Linked DNA regions of Homo sapiens: regions 2, 3 and 4 are each linked to region 1. The links are contacts of gene promoters, found by promoter capture Hi-C in blood cells and fetal thymus (Javierre and others, 2016). All regions are on one chromosome and are shown on one strand. The core of a region is centred on a gene start or on the middle of the fragment in contact, and the rest is flanking DNA. Distances in the headings are between cores, read along the strand shown.

Region 1 (3,236 bases), core at 484-2,983:
GGACGCATCCGTTCAAGAGCTACCATGCTACCCATTCTTCTCAAACTGATGTTTTAGAAGCACTTCAAATCCTTAAAGCTCTTGCCTATAATTATAGCTCCTCTATAATTCATGGATTCCATGTTTTTTCAGTGCCCCAAATGTGCCAAACACTGTGCTAGGACTGGGATCCAGCAGGGAAGATAGATAAGATTCCGGCTTCCATGGAAGGCTGCAGTGCAACAGGCAACTTCAGCCCCGTGTCATACAGGCCTGTGAGGGGAGCACAGGGGGTGGAAGCACTGGAAGTGGAAATGTGGCATCTAACCTTGACAGGGTACAGGAGGCTTCCCGGGGTCTGTAAGAGCAGTAGTTCAGCAATGCCTACTGCATGGATGCCTTGGCGGCCAAGCTGGGATCTGAAGAAGGGTAGGAATTAGTGAAGTGAAGGGAGGGGCTGGGGGTTGACGTGTTCTGGGGAAAGAAAAGAGACCCAGAGTTGGGAGCGCAAAATGAGATTTTTCTGCTTAGAAGGATCATTCTGCAAAGTGGAGAACAGATTTCAGGGGGCAAGGCCTGGGACAGAAGGACGATGGGAGCCCTTTACTGAGGTCCAGGTGAGACAGGATGGGAGGAATGGGTTTGGGAGGTTAACAAAAATGGATGGGAGAGGGTTAAGAAGAAGGAGGAATCAGGGATGACTTTCAATTTTCCGGTTTAGGTTTATCTTCCACAGCGTGGGCAATTCTTTTTGTTTTCAACAAGATCACCCCGGGAGCGCAGACCTTCCCAGCTCCCGGGGCGAACACGTGTGTATGGAATCAAGGTGTAAGGAACATACATCCCAGCCTTTGTTGTAAATGGGGAAGTCTAGAGCTCTTCAGGAGAGGAGGAAGCTCCGGCCTCGTGTAGGGAAAGGTTTCGCTCGAGGCTGTACCGCCAGCGTCTCCGTTTCCGCGTTCTCCACAACCTTGCGAGAGGTAAACTGCAACTGTAGTTTCCGGATTTTACAGAGGAGCCCAGGAGGTCTGCGTGAACCCTGCCCGAGTCACTTACTCTGCCCAGCAGGTAAGCGTAAGGCCCAAACCCCACGCTGTTATTCCAAGTTCGCTTGCTGGGCACGGTAAGTGAACCCTGGGAGTCCTGGACTCTGGTGAAGGCCACCATGCCCTACCTGGAGGCTGCTCAGGGTCTAACATCCTCTAGCATCCACGGGAAGGGATTGCGTTAGGATTTTTTTCTCTCGTAAAAAAGTTCCTGTCTCCCCCTAGAGCCAGGCACACGCCTCCCGCGCCAGACCACTTGTCCCAGGCACAACATTTTTTGACTCTTCGCCTCCCCCGTTTCGATCCCCCTTCCTCTCCGCCTTAGGTGGCAGGAAAATCCTTTACCTCCGACCAATCCCACCGATGCCGAGCCGCGCGCGCGCGCCAACTAGAGCTCCGTCTGTGCACGCCATTGGCCACCTCCACCTATGCGAGATGACAGGCAGCTTCGCGGACCTATCGCCGAGGGAGGCAGAGGCCTCCGGCCCTCCCAAAGCTGCTTTGTTAGGGGCTCCCTGGTCGTCCCCCGGCCCGCCGCGCCTCCGCTGCCTGCGGGCGATCTCCCCGGGCCGCGCTGACGGAGCCTCGCAGGAAGGCATCTCTGGAGCGCGCGCCGCCCGCGCCCCTCCAGCCGCGCGCTCCGAGCCTGGCTGCGGCGCGGATACCCGGCGTGCGCCCATAGTCGCTCTACAGCCCAACTCCGAACGCCCCGCTCCTGCATCCACCGCCTCGGATTGGCTGGCCGGAGGCGGAGCGATTGTCAGGCGGCCCAATCGGAGCTCGGTTTCCCACGGGCTCCCGCGGCCCGGCCCCCGAGGCCGCAGGCGGAGGGGCCCTGACAGCTCCGATTGGCAGACCACGAGCGGGTTCGAGCGCGGCCGGCAGAGCAGCGCCGCCGCCGTCGGGCGCGCAGCTCTGCAGCTCCGCGGACGCCTTGGCGCCCGCAGCCCCAGGGGCACGGCTGCCCCGCATCGTGCCCGGCCCCGTCGCGGAGATCCCGGACGACCGTCGCGGGTGAGTACCGCGGGCCTGGGGTGCGCGGGCGTCCGGCCGGAGCCGCCCCGGGAGACGGCGGCGAGGATGCCCGGAGCCTCGGTGCCCGTGCCGGGCACGTTCTGACCCCCGTCTCCCGCACACTGGGGCTCCCGGCGGGTCCTAGCTCCCCCCGATCGGGCTTTCCACGTATTGTTTTCGTGTTCACACACTTGGGAGGTGGGGAGATGCGGGGAGGAGAGGCAGGAGGAGGCATCCCTCGCGCGAAGGAGGGAGACGAGACCGTGCAGCCCAGGTGCCTTCGCTGGATGGAAATGACAGCGTCCGGACGTCGGCATTCGGTCCTCTCGGCAGCAGGAGGTCAGCGCTGACCTGCGGCGGCCGCGGCACTTTGTATTTTATCGGCTGATTTTTGTCAACTTCGGGGAGGGCGTGCTTGTGCATCCTTGTGTCTATGTTTGCGTCTCGGTCCCTGACTTAGGCACCTCCGGGCCTGGCTTTTCGGCGACGCGTCCTGGGCGCTCACCTTGGCGATCCGTGCCGCCCTCGGGGCCGGGCTCACCGGGCGGAAAGCCCGGGGGCCGGCGCACGGAGCTGGGGACCCGCGACGAACCCCCGGAGGGGGGCATTAAAAGCGGAATCCTGCGGGTGCGCAGACAATGCCTCATCCGGGCGGTCGGGTCCCGGGGACTGTGCCCTGGGTCCCCGCGCCCTATCCCGTCCCCGCCTCGCCCTCTCACCAGCTCTGCCGCTGCGATGCTGCTGCGCCGCGCCCCTCGCCACCCGGCTGGGGACCCGCGTGGGGCCCGCTTTTGTTTACAGACCTCGCCATTGGGCGAGAGCAGCGCGCCGTGCGCCCCCCAGCCCCGGCGGCTGCCGCTTGCCCCCTCGAAACCTGGAGAAGTTGTTGCGCGCTGTCAGGTGACGCCCCCTCCCCCCGGCCGCGGGGCGGGATGCTGCAGGGGAAAGATGCCGTCTCGGCGCCTTCGCGCCCAGCCCCCGCCGCGCACGGCGCCTCTAGGTCCCCTGCACCCGGGGGCGCCCGTGTCCCAGCCTGGGGTCCAGGCTGGCGGCCCTCGGGGCGCCGACTCGGCCACACTCACCCGGTTCCAGTCGTCGCGTCTCCTGGTCTTGCCCCCGGGTCAGCCCTGGTTGACTCGGAGCCTGCCTTTTCCCGCGCGCTGGCAGGTCTTGAAGGACGTGCGCGAGCCCTTGGGG
Region 2 (3,236 bases), core at 287-2,786, 370 kb after region 1:
CCTTTCGGGCATAATGCAGGAACTCAGTTCACAACAATGACCTCCCATAATTTTTGTTTAACATATACTATGATGTACCTTAGTAATGTAGGAATTATTCTTTTACACCCCCTCCCGAAAACTATAAATTTTGAGAAATCTCAAAATAAGTAAGCCATTATCCTACATTATCCTCCCTTCCCATACAAATAATGTTAAAGGAACTATTTTGGTGGTGTGTAGGGGGGTCCCCAAGACCATCCCTAGGTTTGCTGATTCACTAGGAAGACCCACAGAGCTCAGCCTCTGGTCATACTCACAACTATGATTTTTTTAATAGCAAATTATACTGAAGCGGCTTCGTTGTCTTGGGTAAATACCCACGGTTCGTTGTCTCATGCCAAGGGAATCGAGGATGCGGACACACAAGAAGTGGGTTTAGGAGTAGAGGTTTAACAGGCAAAAAAAAAGAGAAAGGAGAATAGCTCTCTCTCCTGCAGAGAGAGAGGGGTGCCCGAGTGGGTCTTCCGGCCAGCGGCGGAATGCACTGGATTTGTATAGCCAGGCTTGAGGAGGCGGTGTCTGATTTACATAAGGCCCACAGATTGTTTGGACCAGGTGTGAGGTCTACACAGCACGCATGGAAGCTGGCTGCCCTATCCTAATCTTTATTATGCAAATGGAGTCTTTGCCTGGCGGGGGCCATGTTCACTGCTTCTTACTGTACGCATGGCTGACAAAGAGAAGAGAGGATGGAGCCGCCATTTTGAACATGCTTAGTCCCAGCTAGCTTTTCCCGATTCACACTGCCGGCACTCACCGGTGTAAGCTTCCAGCTTGCTTGTCTGTGTGTGCAGCTTGATTTTACAGGCTGCTTTTTGTTACAAAAAAAAATTATTTGGGGGTTGCTTTTCATTAAAAGGAAAATGTTACTGAGGATTTTCTTCTCCTCGCTCTCTGCCTAAATCATTTCATCTTAACTCCTGTATCAACACAAAGCAAAATCAGCAAAGGGAAAAGGCGCATGGAGTGAAGTCTAGGGGAAACCAGGTGTGAGCTTCAGCGGGCCCTGTTTCAGTGGAGTCACGTAGAATGAGGATAACTCCTGCAGCACCAAGTTGTGAGGACACCTGAGAAATGCTCTCTCCTAGGGAAGGTGGTTAGAGAGTCAGTGCCCAGGGCTTTTCTGGGGAGGCTGGTTCCCTAGGCACCCTCTGCCTAGCATGCACCAAAATTCCAGACTCCCAGGAGGAAAGTAGGCGTTCACCATAAATCCCATTGTTTGTACCACAGTTTAGGCACTGTGAGCCACTCAGGGTGTTGGGAACCCTCCCAAAATCCAAGTTCTCAGGATACCAGCCAAGGTTCAAATTTGTAAGCGGGCCTTTCGAAGAATAGCAGTCATGCCTGCTGTGTTAACGCTTTCCTATGCGGTTGTCTACATTCTGGCGGAGTTAAATATATATTCCTTTCCATATGTTTAAGACCAGTCTTCTTTACTTAGCATTACACTGTATGGCTTGAATAGTAACAGAGTTGGTGCCTGAGTAAATTAAGTGAGGAAAATCCATGCTGTGCTGTATCAGTCAGGAGTGGCGAGGTTAGCTGAGGTAACAGACAGCCACCAAAGCCCGGTGGCTCGAAACAGTGACATTTATTTCTCACATTCACCACGCGTCCCTTGTGGGTTGGCTGGGACTCCATACGTTGTCCTCATTCCACACCCAGGTCTGGAGCAGCTGCCACCTGGGACAGTGCTTGTCACTCTGCAGAGGGGGAAGGGGAGATGGGAAAGCAGGTGTTGTCCCACTCCCAATTCATTGGCCAAAGCAAGTCACACAGCCATACCTACCTACGAGGGAGCACTGAAGTGTGATTCTACTGTTTGGTAGAAGGAGAACAAAGTTCCCGGTGGAAAGACATAAAGACTACCTCATATGCTCGCTTAAGATTTCTCTCTGAATCAAGTTATTAAGCTGTCTTTTTTTTTTTTAAGACACAGTTTCCCTCTGTCGCCCAGGCTGAAGTGCAGTGGCGCGATCTCAGCTCACTCCAACCTCTGCCTCCCAGGTTCAAGTGATTCTCCTGCTTCCCAAGTAGCTGGGATTACAGGCGTGTGCCACCATGCCTGGCTAATTTTTGTACTTTTAGAAGAGACGGGTTTCACCGTGTTGGCCAGGGTGGTCTTGAACTCCTGACCTCAACTGATCCACCCACCTCGGCCTCCCAAAGTGCTGGGATTACAGGCATGAGCCACTGTGCCTGGCCCAGGTTATTAAGCTTTTTAGCATTTGAAAATCTTTAAAACTCTTTTCTGAGCACTGGGATATTACATTCCTTCTGCACCTTCCCCTGTAGGCCACCAGTCTTCATCTCGGAATACTCAATAGAGGATTTGGGCCTAATGAAGAGAATCCAGTTTTGAACCCTGGCCACTTGCGTTATAACTTTATGCTGTTTATTTCTTGACCTTAAAACTAAAGACATAATAAAGCCAGGAGAATGTTTCTCATGGCAAGGAATAAATGTTTATGAGCGGCTTATTATGCAGCAAAAAGCCGACCTCAGTAATTAGAGCTGTAATTGGTAGCAGTGAAGTGCCTGGATCCTCCAAAATTAGATGCTCCATAATGATTATTCTTTTTCTCTTCAGTTTACTTAATTTTTGTTGAGTAAGGATAAACTAGCAAAGATCAAGTTCAGAAGGCTGAATTTCAAAGCTCTTGGACTCTGCTTCTAAGATTGAGTGATTCAGGGACTCAGAAATTGGAACTGGGCATGAAACTGCTACCGTTTGTATACATTTTAATACTTTTTGTTAAAGTCACTGAATTACTCACAGAACCCATTTACTTTTACCCCCTGAGGAGGGTATGACAGGGCACCAGGCGTCAGTCTTGAGAGTGTTACAAACAGTGCTTCCCAACTCATCCGATGTAAAGAAGCAGGTATTTTGTTTTGTTTTAATTTCCACTCTTTTGTGACCACTGCTGCTTTTGTGAAATACAAAATCCCATGCTTGGAGGTTGTGGCAATGTCAAAGCTACAAGAGGTTCTCAATGCTTAGTCTTGATTTCTGTCCTGACATTACTGCCATTAGCAAACAGTTGGCACCTGTTCCCTGACTTCACTTTGAAAAGCCCTGCCACAGGCTGGACACAGAGGGTCACACCTGTAATCCCAGCATTTTGGGAGGCCGAGGTGGGCAGATCATGAGGTCAAGAGATTGAGACCATCCTGGCCAACATGGTGAAACC
Region 3 (3,236 bases), core at 457-2,956, 290 kb after region 1:
TCTAATGGTTGCATCTTACATGATTATAGTAAAATACTAAAGCCAGGAATTTGACATTGTTTCAATATATGTGTATAGTTCTATATCTTTTTTTTTTTTTTTTACAAAAGGCTTAGTAGCCTAATAAATCTATAAAAGCAGCCCCTGAGAAATGACCACCTACCTGATATATATATATGAACCACCCTAACTAATAAGTATTTGTGTATATTGATAAAGTTTCTTAAAATACCTTTTAATTCCTTTACTATGTATAGACAGTCCCCAACTTAGGGTGGTTTGACTTGTGTTTTTTTAACTTTACGGTGGTACACATACAATCATTTTGTTTTTCACTTTCAGCACAGTATTCAGTAAGTTACATGAAATATTCAACACTTATTATAAATAAATATTCAACAAACATTCAATACTTAAAATACGCTTTGTGTCAGATGATTTTGCTCAGCTGTAGGCTAATGTAAGTGTTCTGAGCCATTTAGGGTAAGCTGTGCTGAGCTATGATGTTTGGTAGGTTAGGTGTATTAAATGAATTTTTGACTTAGGATATTTTCACCTTACAATGGGTTTATGAGGACATGACCCCATCATAAATGGAGGAGCATCTGCATTTAATTTGGTGGGATTTAAAGGCCCTTAAGGTGATTACTTATTGAAAAGTTTAACTTATCACTTTAAGAGAGGGATCATGGTGTTGGTAAGAAAAGAAAAATCACACTCATCCTATTGTCTTTGATCCCTGGCCCTGAGCACTCCCCCAGGAACTCCTGATGCTTTGACCCCATACCACTTTCAGATGACACTCTTGCCCATCATGCCACTAAGACTCCTTTGCTCTCACTTTCTCTGGATCGTCCTAGGCCTGAGCAGTTCTACACTTGCCCTCTCAACTCTTAACCTCATTCCTGAACCTCTGCACTGCAGCTCCAAAAGGAAGAGGAAGATAGGAACTGGAGGCAAGAATTCAGTGGAATTAGACAGGTGCAAGCCCTTAATTCTTTCCCCAGGAAGAATTGGGGGTGGGGAGGGGAACACACTGGAGCACAAGCTGAACACCCTCACCCCTAAGTTCATGGATCAGGATGACCTTCAACCCAGTGGTCCAGAGTAAGGGACTGACACAGACCTGCAGGTGGAAGGGACCCAGAGAGCAGAGAGCTGATTGGGAAGTTTCTTCCAGGCATCCTGAGAGAAGAGGCTAGCGTATTTAAGACTGATGTGTGCTGTGTCTCATTAGCATTGTGGTCATGTTCTCACCTATGTTGCATTGTAGTTGTATGAGTTTTCACATCTTAGATTAAAGTGTCTTTGTCATTCATTCATTCCAGTATTTTTTTTTTTCTTTTGGGTTTTTGGTGTTTTTTTTAATGGACCACCTACAACCTTTCAGGCTGGGTTCTAGGCAATGAGGATACAGCAGGAAACAAGACACTTCCAGCCCTCCTGAAGCTTAGGCTCTAGTGGGAAAGGATAGAGAATAAGAAAGACCAGTAAGTGAAATATATGTTGGTTACAATTATGATCAATGTGAAGGCAAAGCAAAAGAAGAGGGGTAAGAAATGTTGAGTGCTGCAGCACTGGTTGTCATTTTAGATGGAGGAGGGGTCAGGAAAGGCCTCCTTGACCAGGGGACATTTGATTGAAGGTCTGAAGGAACTTGGTGGAGTAGGCGGAAAGGCAGAGCGTTCTAGGCAGAGGGACAGGCACAGGCCCTGAGGCAGGCTAAGGAAGCCAGAACTTAGAACAGGGATGTCCAATCTTTTGGCTTCCCTGGGCCACATTGGAAGAAGAAGAATTGTCTTGGGCCACACATAAGATACACTAACACTAACGATAACGGATGAGCCAAAAAAACCAAAATTGCAAAAAAATCTCATAGTGTTTTAAGAAAGTGTATGAATTTGTGTTGGGCTGCATTCAAAGCCATCCATGTGGCCTGTGGGCTATGGGTTGGACAAGCTTGACTTAGAAGATTGGAAAGAAAGAAAAGCACGAGAAGCCAGACTTGAGGTTTGAATATGGAGAGTTGTTCTTAGGCTAAAAGCTTGTCCTCCCTCCCTCCTACCTAGTCCCTAAACATGAGAGCTATGTGGGACCACTAACATTCTATATAAGTAAATCATAGTCTGAAATTAAGAGTTTAATGAATTTAAAACTGGTAGTGTTTCCAAGCTTGAGATCTAGTACCAGTTTTCTGGCATCCACCTTTTCAATGTCAATCCCAATTTTTGCATTTCAGCCTGTCCTCCTTGTCCCAAATATTCTCTCTCCTACCTAGTGACTGTGTGATGATGTTAGTGAGGTGCTGGTCCTTCACTTTTTGCTTTTGTTACTAAAATGCACCGATATTTACTGATGCTTTATCGTGCGTGGAATATTTCTAGTCTTGTGGAAGCCGTAAAAAAAGTAAAAGTTAATTTCTGCTCTGAATTTGCTTTCTTTGGGCTACAGGAACAACAAAACCCACACAAATATAAAATGCAAATCAGGTTTTGTTTGTTGAAGATAAAAATAAAAAGGGTTAAGTAAGATTGAATAGGAAGAAATTAAGATGATGGAAGTAGCTGGCATTTTACATTTGTACATGGAAAGGGTAAAACTTAAAATTCATCGGCCGGGCGTGGTGGCTCACGCCTGTAATCCCAGCACTTTGGGAGGCCTAGGTGGGCAGATCACAAGGTCAGGAGATTGAGACCATCCTGGCTAACATAGTGAAACCCTGTCTCTAATAAAAATACAAAAAATTAGCCAGGCGTGGTGGCGGGCGCCTGTAGTCCCAGCTACTCGGGAGGCTGAGGCAGGAGAATGGCGTGAACCTGGGAGGTGGAGCTTGCAGTGAGCCAAGATCGTGCCACTGCACTCCAGCCGGGGCGACAGAGCAAGACTCCGTCTCAAAAAAAAAAAAAAAAAACAAACAAACTTAAAGTTCACCAACTTTCTGGGGGTTGCCAGTGGGGCAGGGGTTGTCCCTGAAGTGGAGATTGTGTCTCCTGTATGCAATGAGCAATTTCAACTTTTCACGCTGATGTTATTTCAGAGTCCTCCGCTGATCCCACATGGGCTTTCATCGTTCTTATTAACCTCTCAGGAACAGCTTTCAAATTGAAGGGTGTTTCAGCAATCCCTAGAAACTTATTTTTCTTAACTTCAGTTGCTTCAAACTTCCTGCTCACTCTCCTTAGGCCATCCCCTGAGAGTTTCTCTTAGTAGGATTTAGGAGATTTGGCATTCCTCTC
Region 4 (3,236 bases), core at 193-2,692, 270 kb after region 1:
ACATTAAATAAATCAGCAGTGGTAGGCATACTCTTCGGGGTGGGCATGCTTAGAACTATTTTTTTGAATGGTGATGCCAATAAAACCATTTGCATCATAGTGCCCTGGACAGGAGTATACTCATTGATTCGTAGAGGGCAAGCCTAGTGTCTGTTTCACTTCCCTTGTGTGTGGTCCCATAGATATTACTTGGCAGTGAATGTCAGGCTTTTAAAGCCTGTTGCTGTCATACTAGAAACAGATTTGCTTTGTGATTTTATGTATCGGTTTTCTGCATGGGGACTGATGTATCACTGTTTGAGAAACGTTCCCATGACTCCCCAGGAATTGCCTTTATATTAAAAGAGGCTGATTATCCTCTTATGATTTTTAGGGAGGGGAATATGGGCTCTGTTTGATTTTTGTTTTCTTCTACATAACAAATCTGATTCGCAATGACTTCATATGCTTTTTATTCTCTCCCAATTTGTCATTTGGCTAGGATGAACAGTAATTGTTGTACAGCCAAAATATCTTGCACCGGCTTTTAAATGAGCTTAGGTCACTTTTCTGGGGTCCAGCTCAGTGGTACTTTTGCCTTAATTGAATCACCTATACTGAAAAAAGAATACCCAGTAGAGAAAAATCTCATGGTGGTTACCATTGTGATGCCCGTGGGTTTTGACTTGAGAAAGTTAAAGAAATATGGACTTCTTTCCAGGCGTAGGGAGCACAAAAACTTCCAGACCATCCACCTAACTTTAAAAAGAATGGGTGCTTAGGAGAGTTGGGCCAAGTCACTTGTGTCCCATAGTTAACCCATGTCTTTCTTGCCATCCCTCTGTGCCCATCACCATGTGCTCCACTCTCATCCTTTGCTGGTCTGGTCACTCACATAAACCAGGGCATTGCCTGAGATCTGCATGGTGTTGCAAAGCTATTGACTTCTTATTTTATACACTCACAGAAAAGTTAAATGATTGTTCTTAAATGCTACATGTGTTTAAGTGGCACTTGGGCATGCTTATTTATGCATTGCAGATATATTGCACTGTGATTTGTACAGCTTTGATCATTGCCTGCATTCAGTGATCTTATTTAAATAATAAGAGTGAGTTCAAGATGTGAGTCAACAGCATGGTGGGTTTCCTGCAGCCTGAGAATATTTTGGAGACTGAACCCAAATCTGATTTACTTTTTAACTTTATGATGCCAAGGCTGAGGCATCCTATTTTTATTTTTGCATTAAATTATTGAAGCTGTTAAATCCATTTATTATTACAGGTATTGATTTAGTCCATACAAAGTGTGGTTGAGATAATGTTTGAAACTTCTGGCCTCTCATGGATAATTAGAGGGTTTGGTTTTGTTTTTGTGTGTGTTTTAAGTTCCATAAATCTGCATTGGAATTGGCCATTATTTGTGTCTCCATTCCAATATCCTCCCTGATCTAAGTTTTTTGGGAGTTGCTATGCTCTGAATGTTGGTATAAATTCATATGTTGGAACCTAATACCTGAATGTGATAGTATCATGCGGTGGGGCCTTTAGGACGTGATTAGGTCATGAGTGCTCTGCCCTCATAAATGGGATTCGTGCCCTTATGAAAGAGACTTGAAGGAGCCTGTTTGCCCTTTCTATCAGGAGAGGATGTATCAGGAAGGTGCCATCTGTGAGGAACAGGCCCTCATCAGATGCTGAATCTGCTGGCAACCTGAACTTGGACTTCCCAGCCCCTAGAACTGTGAGCAAGAAATTTCTGTTGTTTATAAATTACTCAGTCTAAGGTATTTTGTTATAGCAGCCCAAACATACTAAGGCAGGAAGGTTGTTTTTTTTGTTTGTTTGTTTTTGTTTTTTAACTGTATTGCTGTTCTAGTGGGTTCCAGTCCTTTGTTTTTGAGGTCCTTTGTGGAATGGACACCAAATTTCCAGTAAGATCACTGTGAGTGAATTGTGGCCCCTCAGGGATAACATTTGAATCTGGTGCTTGATTATACCTCAGAGTGGAAGGTGTTATTGTCACCTTCCATTTCAGTTACCAAGCCAGGAACTTCAGAGAAGTCTATGCCTCCTTGTTCTTCCTCCTTCTTTCCTCAAAGGATGTATGTGGCCACCGAGTCCTGGTGATCCTACCTGTCATTCTCACTACTCCAAGGCACTCACTGTCCCCGTTGGGCCATCCCAACTTATTGATGGCTTGCAATAAGTCTTTCCCTTCTCTTCCAAGCTACCCAGGTGGGAAAACTATGTTTGATCATGTAACTCCCATAATAAAATCTCATCGTGTAATCCCATCAAATACAATCATGTTCAGTTCCTTTGTGTAGCATCCATAGCCCCAGCCCATCTTTTTAGCTTCATCATCTCCAGCTTTTTCCCATGCACTCGCCTCACTGCAACATTGGGCTAATGATACTTTCATTCCTCAGAGTCTTTGCTTATACCCTTCTCTTTTACTGGAAATTTCTGTCCTTCTCTTTGTGTAAACTCTCTCCTATCCCTGTTCATTTCCTCTCATCCTCCTAAGCTAAGCCAAATCCTATTAACCTGTCAGGACCAGGTTCAACCGAGAGCCTCTCCTAGCAGAATTAGTCTATTTCTTCACATCCTTCACTATTAATAATGCCAGACTAGCTGTTACAGCCCTGTCTGAGTGGGTAGATGCCCACTGTCTTCCCAGATTATATGCATCATAAAGAAATGGTCTATTTCCTCATTCCAAACATATAACAGGTGCCCAGTAAAATGTTGGTTGAGTTGAACTGAATGTGTGATCATCAGTAAAATTCTACATAGATACTCTGTCTTACCCAAACAATTCATAAGCAGTTTTTAGATAGCCCTAAGCGTAGCTATTTAGAAGCCTATTTTTATATACTCTTTTTCATAAGATGCTGTCATTTGTAAAATGCACCACTATTTTGCATACCACTAAGAAGCAGAGAAAATGGCACCACTAAACCCCAATACACCATTGTGATTGTAAGATATATTCAATTTCAAAGATGTTAAGAGTCAAAAATAGTGTTTCTTAAAATCAATGAAATAAAGAATTATGTTTTTACATGTTAGAGCTTGTAGTCTTAATTGTATAACTGTGAAACAACTTGAAATGATTTGCAAATAAAAACTTAAGGTCATTTTTTTTTTCCATTTTAAAATGAGGAGTGACTAAAGGAGAATTTGGGACCAAGTGCCCAGGGAGTGACTTGGGACTCAAGGCCTTTTGACCATGGTTACGTCACTCTGTCTTGT

Evidence for each region. Contacts are between HindIII fragments. The CHiCAGO score rates a contact against its expected background, and 5 or more counts as called.
Region 2: a fragment that was not itself captured here is called in contact with the fragment with the promoter of TIAM1-AS1 in region 1 in 14 of 17 cell types (naive CD4 T cells, activated CD4 T cells, non-activated CD4 T cells and 11 more); the score reaches 27.2 in naive CD4 T cells.
Region 3: a fragment that was not itself captured here is called in contact with the fragment with the promoter of TIAM1-AS1 in region 1 in 9 of 17 cell types (activated CD4 T cells, naive CD4 T cells, non-activated CD4 T cells and 6 more); the score reaches 16.9 in activated CD4 T cells.
Region 4: a contact is called between a fragment that was not itself captured here and the fragment with the promoter of TIAM1-AS1 in region 1, in 6 of 17 cell types (activated CD4 T cells, naive CD8 T cells, fetal thymus and 3 more). The highest score is 13.1, in activated CD4 T cells.

Annotation. Positions count from the first base shown.
Region 1 is chr21:31,557,730-31,560,965 of GRCh38, reverse strand. It overlaps TIAM1-AS1 (TIAM1 antisense RNA 1), which reads right to left and starts at 1,733. Exons shown (of 2, transcript NR_171013.1): 1 at 1,371-1,733; 2 at 479-949. It also overlaps a transcript of TIAM1 not described here. RefSeq lists a silencer at 1,385-2,014 and enhancers at 1,294-2,106, 2,920-3,236. The HindIII fragment of the contact is 6,855 bases long and covers 1-3,236 here.
Region 2 is chr21:31,191,347-31,194,582 of GRCh38, reverse strand. The region is part of intron 13 of TIAM1 (TIAM Rac1 associated GEF 1); the gene reads left to right. Among named protein-coding and RNA genes, the nearest start is that of TIAM1, 150 kb to the left of the region's middle. The HindIII fragment of the contact is 1,451 bases long and covers 811-2,261 here.
Region 3 is chr21:31,269,347-31,272,582 of GRCh38, reverse strand. All of the region lies in intron 3 of TIAM1 (TIAM Rac1 associated GEF 1), which reads left to right. Among named protein-coding and RNA genes, the nearest start is that of TIAM1, 73 kb to the left of the region's middle. The HindIII fragment of the contact is 510 bases long and covers 1,452-1,961 here.
Region 4 is chr21:31,286,840-31,290,075 of GRCh38, reverse strand. The region is part of intron 2 of TIAM1 (TIAM Rac1 associated GEF 1); the gene reads left to right. Among named protein-coding and RNA genes, the nearest start is that of TIAM1, 56 kb to the left of the region's middle. The HindIII fragment of the contact is 5,407 bases long and covers 1-3,236 here.